2 separate regions of the Homo sapiens genome follow, and region 2 is linked to region 1. Evidence: promoter capture Hi-C in 16 types of primary human blood cells and fetal thymus (Javierre and others, 2016). All regions are on one chromosome and are shown on one strand. Each heading gives the region's core, a stretch centred on a gene start or on the middle of the fragment in contact. The rest is flanking DNA. Distances are from core to core; before and after follow the strand shown.

The links. Contacts are between HindIII fragments. The CHiCAGO score rates a contact against its expected background, and 5 or more counts as called.
Region 2: a contact is called between a fragment that was not itself captured here and the fragment with the promoter of MED13L in region 1, in 16 of 17 cell types (M1 macrophages, megakaryocytes, erythroblasts and 13 more). The highest score is 15.3, in M1 macrophages.

The regions. Positions count from the first base shown.
Region 1 is chr12:116,273,518-116,279,838 of GRCh38, forward strand. MED13L (mediator complex subunit 13L) reads right to left here and starts at 4,176. Exons shown (of 31, transcript NM_015335.5): 1 at 3,543-4,176. The coding sequence starts at 3,614. RefSeq lists silencers at 4,005-4,474, 4,525-4,584. The HindIII fragment of the contact is 4,130 bases long and covers 2,901-6,321 here.
Region 2 is chr12:116,016,716-116,022,655 of GRCh38, forward strand. MED13L (mediator complex subunit 13L) reads right to left here. Exons shown (of 31, transcript NM_015335.5): 5 at 5,741-5,886; 6 at 3,063-3,257; 7 at 2,509-2,697. Among named protein-coding and RNA genes, the nearest start is that of MIR620, 130 kb to the right of the region's middle. The HindIII fragment of the contact is 1,700 bases long and covers 3,841-5,540 here.

The DNA of each region.
Region 1 (6,321 bases), core at 2,926-5,425:
CATTTACAACTACCTTCCCATTCTGCAAAAAAATCCCTTAAGACAAAAAGAAAGTAGGTCAACAATAGATTACCTTAAAAGCTTCAAATATAGAACTAATGGTCTTCAATAGGAATTATGTACTAATGGGTGTACTAGTGTCTCAATTCAGCAAGAATTTGAGATTATCACCCAATTATCCATAGTCAGGAAGATTCTAAGCAAATAAAACATGAAAGTGGAGCATACATATCTAAGAACTAGAGATCACTCCCTCATATCAAAGAGCACATATTTAAATCTAGTTAAAGGGCACAAAATCACTTTCTCCATATTAACTCAATAGAGAAAAATAAATGTCTACTTAACATCCAGAAATTATGTCTTCTCACAAGAATGAGTTCACATACCATAGGGTGCACTGTTACACTTTTCAAAAAGGCAGATTTAACACACTTTTAACTGAATGATTAACTGAGTGAATATATAAAAAGTCACCCAGAAATGTGATGGACAGCATAAGAAAATAGTTTTGAGTCAGAAAGGCACAGGCAGGCATGCACTTAATGCAGCAGCTACAAATCTCACAGCAGTTAGAATAAGAAACTTATACAATGACCCATATCATATATACACAATGGCATTTTTCACACGTTAGGAAAAGGGAATGGATGCTGAAAAATTAATTTAAGAAATTTGATTCCGTGCAGTAAAAAATCAGAAAATAAGTAAAAGACTAGCAGAAATCTTAAAGTGTCTGATTGATTGCACAATCAACTTTTGGTAAGCCATAATGAACACCTCAAGGTAATGGAAACTGGGTGGGTATTACCACGGTACAGAACTTAATCTCTTATTTCAATCTAACTAATGAGAGTATCTAGGTAAATTCTTTATAAATACTTTTCTCTGCAAAAAAAAACAAAACAAAAAAAAAAAAAACCCTGCAGGCCAAAAGAAAAAAATGCATGCTATTATTAAACCATAAAGCGTTCTTATAAAAAAACATGATTTTGAACAAGTGATTACATCTCCTTCAGAAATAACTATGATATACAATGTACTTTGGGCAACATATTTTTAATATTCCAGGTTGCTACTGCTGTATAGCATTTTCAAAAAAAAAAAATCTCAATTTGGAATCAGAAAAATGTACAAGTCAGCAGTTTAATTAATTTACATTTCTTCAATAGCACCTTATCCACACTCCACGTACAAGAGAATGAAGACATTCTACGTTCCTTTAAAAAAAAAAATCAACTAAGCATTTCTATGGTTCTCTAGTTCAAAGTTGCTACTTAAAAAATAATTCTTTTTAAAAAAGCATATTCAAAAATCAATCCCTTGGTTTAAAGAGGTTTAGGGGAGAAATATCTCAAACACAAACCTTTAGTCATTCAAAATCAAAGTACAGAATCCTCTCCTACAAAATTGCTTCTCCAAAAGAATCTCAAGCATTTTATCTCTGTAACGTTATCATCCTTACTTAAGCTTTAAAAAAAAAAAAAAAAGATAAAAGAAATGATATACCCTAAAGACTGGCTATACATATACTTTCATTTGTCTACAGAATCCGTATATACACAGCCATTACCAGTCAGCATAATATATGATAATTTGGGAGATCGCTCTACTTGGTTATTTTAATTACCTGTAAGTGTCAATGTGGTCACCAGTAACCACACAAAAACCATTTTAAATACCCCTTGATCAATATGTTTGCTAATCTATGGAAGTCCCTGAACCTGACTGATACTAAATGATAAGACTGAGGAGGGAAAAAGTTGAGGCAAAAGGGGGTTTTACTCCCACATACCAAAAAATCAAGGGAAAATTATCACAATACTAAGAGAAAGAATTCCAACTTATAAATGAATTTTAAGATTAAATATCTGGATTAAAATATTTCATTTAAAAAAATTTACCTGATTTTACTAGAGTGGGAGCAATGATACTATGTCTTTGTAGGTAAAAATCACGTGTTGATTTTTTGGTCTGCATTGTAACACATTTAATAAAGTAACACTTTCATTTGAAAAGTTGGCGAGAATTTGCATTTCTCCATTAGTCTCATAGCAAAAAGGCATCTATGCCACCCATAATTAAATGTAACTAATTACAATTTGAACACTAAATTATTTATCCAGTGTAAACAAGGATTAAGAGGGAAATAATGCTTCTATCTACAGCGGGGGTTACAGAAAATAATTTCCAAAATGCATGCTCTCCAAAAGGGACTCACCTCCCCCCCAAAAAAAACAGGGTACACAACTTAAAACAAGTTGGGTGTTTTTAAGGCTAAATTAAATAAACCGTTCAGCCAATTTTCCAATTATATTCTACGCTTGAAACGTAATTGCCTTACATCTGTTTACAAATCTTTGCTCAATATTTAAACAAATTCGTACTCTCCTGGGCACATAGCTATACATACAGTAACTCATGCACAAAGCACATATTTAAAGACCACGCACTGCAATTATTAGCCTAAACGCCAGGTTTAACAACGTGAATGTTTTCAGAGGTAGGTAATACGACCCAATAAAAAGCAAAGATGGCATTTACCACCAAATGTCACTGACACCGCCAGGAAAAGAGTTGCTGGAGCCCTATACATTTTTAATTTCGATGAATCTAGACACCGTCGGCGGGTGCCAGGCTTCCACGAGAACAATTGACACCCTAACTGCTTCAAGATTAAGGCAGGCGATTCAAATCCGAAGGAAAAGTTGTCAATTATCAGAAAGAGAGAGCGCGAGAGAGGCGAAGGCAGATAAAAGCGATGTTATCAAACCGACCAGCTTGTTGCTTTTGTGTGTGTGTGTGTGTGTGTGTGTGTGTGTGTGTGTGTGTGTGCGGATTCGTTGTTAGGATAGAGAAAAACAGTTTTTAAAAGACACAGGAGGAGAGAAAGAAGAAAAAGCTTTCTCCACCTTCCGTCGGCTCGGTGCAATGGCTTTACGGCTCTCCAGCATAGTAAGCCCCGAGAGGCAGGCGGCTGTCGATGTTTACAATCGCGGGAGCTTCGGGTGCAAGAGTCCTTTCCTGACACAATCGCATTCAATCAACTATTTTAGGGCGAAATTGCAGGTGTCATTATGGAATTTAAAAAAATTCAAAAGGCAGGCGGGCGGGCAGGCAGCTGATCCAACAACGGGGGAAGAGGTTGCCGATCGGAGGCGCGGCAGCACAAGGCAAAGCCTTCCACATTTACGGGGGGAAAAAAAGGGGGGAAAGGGGAGGAGAAGGGGAGTGCGATTGCAACAGAGGGTGGGCGTTCGAAGTGCGACCCAGAATCCGCAGCTCCGAGACTTCCACATGCAAATTCCACGCCGAGCGCCGCGCTCACAAATGATTTTTAAAGAGCCAAATAAACACTGGATGGGATCCAAGGCGAGAGAGAGACGATCCAAAAGGGGGAGAATCGGCGAGAGGCGAACGGCGGGGAGACGCGAGGGAGGGGCGAAGTCCCGGCGGCGGGAGGAGAAAGTTGGTCGGCGGCGGAGGTCGGGGACCCCCCCCCTTCCCCGGCACAGCCCCCTCCCCGCAGCCCGGCTACTCACCAGCGAAAAGAGGTTGGAGTGACAATCCTCCAGGCTCGCCCCGTTCGCCACCCAGTTCGCTGCCGCAGTCATGATCCTCCGCGAGCCCGGCCGCCAGAGCGGGGCATGTCGGAGCGAGGCGTCCGAGGCGAGGCCGGGCCGGGCGGCGGCGCCTCGCCGGGGAGCGCGGGGCGGCCGGGCCGCCGCCGCCGCCGGGGGAGGGCGCGAGGGCCGGCGGGCAGGCGGGAGGCGCCGCGGCGACGCCGCGCCGGGGGCAGCGGGCCCGGGCTGGCGGGGGGGGCGCGCGCCCCGGGCCGGCGCTGCGGGCCGGCCACCGCCTCCGCCTTCCCTGCTCCTCAGCCGCCGCCGCCGCCGCTGCTGCCGCTGCCGCCGCCTTGTTTATCTCCAGCCACCGACTCCCCCTCGGCCCCCGCCGGCGCGCGAGGGGAGGCGAGCCCCGGAGCCGCCGCCGCCGCCTCGGAGCCGCCGCCGCCGCGGAGCGCGAACTCGCGAAGGGGGGGGTGCGGACGAAGCCAGCGGGCGACCCCGGCAGCCGAGCGACGTCCCCTCCTTCCTCTTCCTCCCCCACCCCCCCCTCCTCCCCAGTCAGCCTCGCTTCTCCTCCCTCCCCGGGCTCGCTTGCTCTGACAGCAATGGCGGCCGCCGACCGCGGCTCGGCCCGCCATTGGCTGGCGCTTGGTCACGTGACGGGCGCCGGCCGCGCGGGGGGAGCGAGGGGCGGGCGGGGGAGGGGTCCGGAGTGGCGGCGGCGGCGGCGGCTCGCGGGAGGCGCTGCTGAGCTGAGCGCGGCCGGGTCCTCCGGCCGGGAAGAGGGAGGGAGGGAGGCAGAGAGGGAGAGAAAGAAGTGCGGGCGGCCGGGCTCCCCGGCGGGCGGCGGACTGCCGGCCCGTGGCTGCCGTGGGCTGCCCCTCGTGGCCGCCCCGCCCCCTCGCGGTGCACTGATCGTGGCGGGGCGGGACCGTGGGTCCCGGGCGCGCCCGTGGTGGCCGCGGAGGAGGGCGCGGGACCCCCGGCCTGTGCCCTCGCAGCCCAGGCCGGCTGGCGTGGCGCGGCGGCCGCGATGTGGGCCAGGCAGCGGGTCCGAGTGCCCTGGGGAATGTGTCCTCAGAGGCTCGCGCCGCCGTCCGCCTTTTGCAGAGGAGAAAACTAAAGCACAAAGGGATTAAATCACTTGCCCGAGGTCGCACACTTGGGAAGAGGAGTCCAGATTCGAACCCGCGCACAGTGAAGCCAAGCTCTTGGACAAGGTTTCACAGGCTTCGCCCAGGGATATTCACGGCTGCCATAGACGGAGCGCTTACTGTGTTCCAGACACTGTGCGTTTAATACAGAAATGTTTATTGAGCCCTTACTCCTAGTTACTGTGTGCACTCATTCATTCATTCATTCATTCATTACATAAATGTTTCCTGAGCTCCTGCTGTGTGCCAGAATCTGTTATAACTTCCAGGCACTGTGCTAAGGCCGTGTTGGGAGCAGACCCTTCTTCCTGGCGTCATTCATTGGATAACCAACATTTCCTGAGTGTATATGGCCTGGGAGTCCGGAGGAGTGCTGCTATGAAGAGAAGCTCTCCCAGTCCTCAAGAAATGGATCCCCGAAAAGGGGGAGGAGAAAACAATGTCTTCACTAATACGCCTCCAAACATGGAACAATCAGCTGTTTCAGGTAGATTAAGCTAAAAGAGGAAGAGTGGATGGCTGGCACAGTGGCTCACGCCGGTAATCCTAGCCGAGGTTTAAGACCAGCCTGAGCAATGTAGCAAGAACCCCCGTCATGACAAAAAAAATAAAATACAAAAATACAAAAATTAGCCAGGCGTAGTGTGGCATGTGCCTGTAGCCCTAGCTACTCGAAAGGCTGAGGTGGGAGGATAACTTGAGCCCTGGAGGCAGAGGCTGCAGTGAGCCCAGTGAGCCGAGGTCGCATCACCGTACTCCAGCCTGAGTGACAGAGAGAGGCCCTGTCTCAAAAAAAAAAAAAAAAAAAAAAAGGAAGAGTAGAAAGCAGGGAAGAGATGAGAGTGTATAATAAGAGAAGTCTTAAGACACGTGAACTGAGTTTTGGAACTACCACAAATACTGCTAAAGCAAAACTCATGAGCAACATGTTATAATGTGTATTATCATGCAACATATTGTTACAATGAATGTCGTTACCTACATTATTTCACATAATCCGCAGAACAACCACCTAAAGTAGATACTGTTATTATTCTTAGGCTGTAATTAGGTAAAACTCAGAGGTGTGCAGTGACATCTCCAATCTCTCAGTTAGTACATGGCTCAAACTCAGGTCCTTCTGACTCCAGAGCCCGAGCATGAATTCAGGAGGCTCCTTAGAAAGATGCCTCTGGCTGGCTTTGCCATCCCTCTAATTGCATTATTTTGACCAACATAGTTTAACTCTTTGAGCCTCATTTCCTAATCTCAAAAATTGATCCTGATTGCTGACCCAATGACCTCAGGCCAATATTGAGAATTTCTATTAAGATACTGTTGATGAGCGGATGCAGTCGCTCACGCTTGTAATCCGTGCACTTTGGAAGGCCAAGGCGGGCAGACCAACTGAGGTGAGGAGCTCGAGACCAGCCTGGCCAACATGATGAAACCCTGTCTCTACTAAAAATACTAAAAATACAAAAATTAGCCGGGTGTGGTGGCGTGTGCCCGTAGTCCCAGCTGCTTGGGAGGCTGAGACAAGAGAATCGTTTGAACCCAGGAAGCAGAGGTTGCAGTGAGCAGAGATTGCACCACTACACACCAGCCTGGGCGACAGA
Region 2 (5,940 bases), core at 3,441-5,940, 260 kb before region 1:
GAGTGGTATCTTAGATGGAATTAAACAAGACTTGTTACTCCAATCTGTTAAAATGCATGTTGAATGTTGTTACTTGCAATTACCTCTACATATCAAACAAAGAGGCAAGTGGATATACCAATCCAAATAAGGTATGAGTAATGTCACTAATACTATTCGGCCCTCCTAAGCCCTCTGCTAATCAAGGAGAACCTTGGTGTTTTTTAGACGGCAAAGTAGCCCATTCTGTCCTATATCTAGAAAAATATGGCATTCAACTACAGAATGTCAAGGCTGACCGGGATACTCTCTGATACAGCATTAAGACTCCTAACCTGTAATTCAACATCCTATGATATGAAAATTTAGGCAAATTCATTTTACTACAAGGATATCGGCAGCTTTTGTTCAGTTGTGTGTGTTTGTTTTAAGGAATAAGGCGACATCAGGGGATTTATTTATCCAAGGCCTAACACAATAGCATACAGAGTTAAAGGGGAAGGAATTTGAAGATCCATAGTTAATTAGTCCACACTGAAATCCCCCATCAAAAAAAACCTCTTGTTTCTGAATTATGACTATTAAGAGTTCTGAACTGACCAGAGGTCAAAGCCTCATTTACACAGCAGGCCTTCAATTTTAAGTTGAATACAAATTTCACTAAGTACAAGGCAAAACAAAAACAAACAGATAACAAGTGGATAACTTAATGTAGTGCAATTGTTAAAAATCCAAATTGTGATGTGAAATTAAAAACTTCAAAATACTGATAATTCTAATTTTTATATTCATATATCTTCTCTATGATGATTACTACAAAAGACTATGAAAGTTCTTTTTTAGTTTAATATAGTTGATTGATGATAAATCCTTTCACAAGGAATCATCCAAATTCTCTGCTCTACCAAATGAAAGCCGCAAGTACTTTTTTATTTTTTTGAGATATGGTCTAGCTCCGTCGACCATGGTGGAGTGCACTGATGCTGTCTTGGCTCACGGCAACCTCCACCTCCAGGGCTCAAGCCATCTTCCCACCTCAGCCTCCCAAGTAGCTGGAACTACAGGCATTTGTCACCATGCATAGCTCATTTTTGTATTTTTTGTAGAAACAGGATTCCACCATGTTGCCCAGGATGGTCTGAAACTCCTGAGCTCAAGCGATCCACCTGCCATGACTTTCCAAAATGATGGGATTACAGGCATGAGCCATCATGCCTGGCCTTGGATGTACTTTTCTTTTCTTCTTTTTTTTTTTTTAACCATCTCAGCAAATACATGGTTCTTAAAAACATACATGTCCATTTCTATGTCTCCCACAAAACATCTGAGTAATTACCTCCAGACAATGTGTGCTAAACTTCGAGTTTTGAATATTGCTTTAAATTATTGCTACCACTTGTATATGACTTTATTGTTTACCAAGCACTTGTATATATTACCTAGTATGTACAACAACACGGTAAAGTATGTATTTATCAGAAAAAATAACCAAGATTCAGAAAAACTACGAGAATTAAATAAGGTCACTCACCTTGTAAACGATATAGCCAGGTTTTACAACGAGGTGCGCTCAATCACAAAGTATATGCTTTTCCCCAATATCTTCTTTAACTATAAACATTTATTTAATGCCCACTAATTGCCAAGAATTGTGCTAGAAACTTTCAAATTTTGTCTTACTCTGGTAATTTTCATGAGGATTACGTATGTATCATGCTTGATAGTTTATTTTCAAAGTTTAGCAGCCAAGGCTTTATTTACTCTAATGTTCCTGCCAGCTTGGCCCACATTCAATGCTTATAAATAAATAATCTCATTTCGGCTCAAGTATGATGAGTATCCTTTCCATACTGACCACAGTTCTAATTAAAGTGAGGTCAACTACAACAATAACAAAGTTAATATAGGAACTATACTACTCAATAAAGAAGGCAAAAATGTTCCCAATTTAAACAATTTCTGAATTTTTCCATGAAGACAGGCAGTTCCAACTGTCAAAACTGTCCCATATAATTAATATTTATTATTAATGCAGACACTTTACTGACAGAGAAAAGTATTTATTCAGAGCTACTAAGCACTAGTCTAACTTTACATCTAACAGGGAAAAGAGTTGTTCAAGGCCTGTCCCTGGCTGACAATGGTCACCGGGGCAGAGGCTTCAGCTACTCTCTGATTTAGTATTCTTCAGTTGTTCAAAATTAAAAAAAAAAAAAACAAAAAAAAACCCTACATTTTATCTATATGTGAACACATACACACATACAGGGGCAGATGTGTGTGCAAACTTTAACAGAATCTAAACTATTTAATAACAATAAAGACTAATATGGACAGAGTTAAAATTCTGAAGTGTATGAATTCTGTTTGTTTATAGTTTTCCTTCTCCATTTTGTAATATCCTTACGTTACTCTACTACCTCCATCTCTTCCAACAGGAATTTCTGTTTTCTCACCTGTTCCATGGCAGGTAGACTATACAATTGTCTGAGATCTCTTCTCCCCAGGACACTCCTGGATCCTACTCACCTAGGATAGCCTGTTCTGGAGAGGTGGGAGGGGTCAGAGGCATCCCACAGTTACTTGGGTCCTTCACACTACCAAGCCCTTGCTGCCCAACTGCAATGTGGCCTCCAGCACTGGCAACACTCTGAGGAACCGGGATGTCATTCTGAGAGATCAAAACAAATGCTGAAGGGTAAACCATCCGAACACCACCTATAAGCAAAGAGAACAAGGAAAGAATCAGGACTGAGAAAGAATTCATACAAGACTTCCAATTTTATGATTCCAATGGTGAAAATGAGATGCTCATGAAGTACTGCCAAAAGTGATAGGCTCCATTCTTTCATAAGTTAATAGCTGTTTAAACATGTGTTCCAACATGATGATAAGAGCATTTGGAATACAAGGACCAAGGGTGCTTCAGGCAAGATAACTACTCAGTACATACCATTGTGTCAAGAGAATTTCTTTAAAAAGATGGGTATGGAGATTATTTCTGAAGAATCTAAATGATTATCTTTTTAAATTAAGGAAGAGGAAGAAGAATAAAGTTCTTCAGGCAAAATATTTTCTCTTACCAACAATTACTTCAACTGCCACAGGGAAATCATCATCATATCCCAACTCGTCTTCCTCTTTCGATTCTTCTTTCTTTTTTAGCACCATCGGGTAGAAATACTGCCATTCCTCAATCAACTTACGAGTGGCTGGGTCTGACATCTTGTATGCTTGGCCTGTTAGCGTCCCATTTAAGCCATAAGGACTTACCAGTACTATGGAGGGGAGGAGAAATACATGCTAAACATTAGAGAAATAATTCCTACTTAAGTGCAACACTACATATGTGGTAATTTTAGGTTACAGTATCACTTAATGTGCATTGTTCTTTATTTCCTAACTCTATTTAAAGTATGATTTAAAAGAAATTTTTTTAAAAATTATTTTTGTAGAGACTGGGTCTCACTATGTTGCTCAGGCTGGTCTTGAACTCCCAGGCTCAAGTGATGCTCCCGCCTTAGCCACAAAAGTATGATATTTTGAAGTTTCTTGTTTTAAAATTTCTTATTATTTATACACCTCTCACCTCCCACAATTTTTAAACGAAATAAAATATGGATAGTACAATGTTATCAGACAGCTATGCTTTGAAGCATATACATATCTGTTTAATAATAGCCTGTACAATGTAAACACTGACTCTCTCAAAACAGAAGAAAATCATTCAACATGGAGACCGCAAATGCTGCCTAAAACTTGAACACTCTTGTGGTTCCTGAGACTCCCTAAACATCTGTGGTAATCAAAGAATAACATATAAATGAAATTTCTAACAGTGGGAAAGTTTTAATGTACAAAAGCTTGAAGCATAATAGTTATCGTTTCTGTTTTGACTGTTTTAGAGGTCTGTTGATAAAACAACTCTAAGTAAAATTTGATTTAACTCAAAGTAAAGGACCCAAAGTCCTCTATCTTCTTTCAGTATTTGACCTTGATGGCATTTTCACTGAGTCAGACACAAAAATATAGTTAATATAGTACTGTGAATTACCCAGCCAGTTCATAGCCTTGAAGTGAGTACTTCAATCTTCCAAATAATACGTTTCTGAAGATAAAGGCCACTTTTTCTTAATTCTAATTTTTAACAAAAACTCAGCATGGTCATTAAACGGAATGTCTTTTTTTTAATTTTTTTAAAGAGCTAGATCATATGTCACATCAATCAAGAGAGAGACAGTTATAGACATCACATGTATCGTTGAGTCTTTCTGCTGTTCCTCAATGATCCAAATGGGATAAAAATACTGACTCCAACTAACACAGTTAATCAAGGGTAATTTTTTTGCAATAATGCTTCCAGGAAATTCCCACATCAATTTGGATAATTATGATGAATATAATTATCCATAAGGACAGCAACTGCCTTAGTATGGTCTTCCTCCACACCAATCATGGAAAATAAGCAGAATAATGCTCCACAAAAGTATTCTATGACTTCCATCAGTGACAAAAATCAGAAAAATTAAAAGTGGTCTATAGGGACCTGGTATTCCTAATATTATTGTTCCCAACATTGAAGATTAGAAATAAGTTCTCTTCCCTCATGACTACTTATTCCTCTGTTATTACCATAACTAAATGCTTTTATTCTGAGTGATAAAATGTTGGATGGAGTCAGATGGTCCTCAGCACTTTTACACTCAAGAAAACAGTATTTTAAAAATTCTGATAAGCCATAATTTGCAAATACTGTACAATTTGTACTGTACAGTTTAAGAATTGGGTTTTGAATTTTCTAGTAGTTTTATTATATTTGGGGCAAGAAACAGATGCTTTCATTGAATTAAATCAGAATAGTTTATAGAAAACAAAAAATAAATACAATGGAGGCTAAATGCTCATGACAGGCTTTTACAGCAATTATAATATTTTAGTCAAGTCTGTTAAAATATCAGTGTTTTTTAAAATTATATTGTGTGATATGCTAAGACTATTTCAACCAGTCATCTCTAATAATGACATATTAGACTGAACCAAAAAAAGATTGTTTCCATACGGTTCAATCTAATATTATAACATTTAAAAGCTGTTACTCACAGAAAATTCTGAATTCCAAAGACAAAACTAAGATTTGTAATGCTCAGATCAAAAGGACATGAAGTTATTTTGGTGATATATAGGTGGTAAAGCTGAGAATTAATGAAAATATGAATGTATCAATTACATTTAAATTACAGCTAAATACCTATTACCAATGGAGTTTAAAATTAAAACAAAGTTAGGAACATCGCTGAAGAAACTATACACTGTATAATTCTAGAACTTTGATTCTGATAGAAATTTCAAATACTAAGTATTTGGTTTATCTTCTATAAACCATTACATTCCTAAAACCTTGTTAATAAACACAACAATGAAAACCTTTAATTTGTGACTTTGGTCAATTACTCATTGAATTCTATTTTTCAAGTATTTATTGATTTTCTTTTGTTCTGAAGGAAATTCTACATTTTATTCTTACAAAAGAATACACATAAGACCATCTTATATATGCGATAAGCTTCAGCGAAAAACTAACACACTATTACTACTTAATTATGAAATGGTAGTCTTTTCTTCCTTCTTCAAAATCTGACCCTTATGCTTAGCTTTAAAATGTCCATTTAAGATAAGGTCTCACCCTGCAAAACTTTACTGGGCAAGATGGTTATCCACTCGGTGGCGGATAGGGGTGGAGAGCAGGAACACCCATACTTACCTTGAAATGGTGCAGGTGAAGACTGAGCCATGTGTATATGCTCCTCATTGATCAAATAAATTGGCTGGTGCTGGGCAATCTCCACACTTGTGCATACATTACTTTCTCCATGCAGAAAGAATGTGAAAGCACAGGACAAATGCTCACTACAAAAGAGAGAATGAGAAACTCAACTTTATATTTTGGTAGGAAAGGGTGCT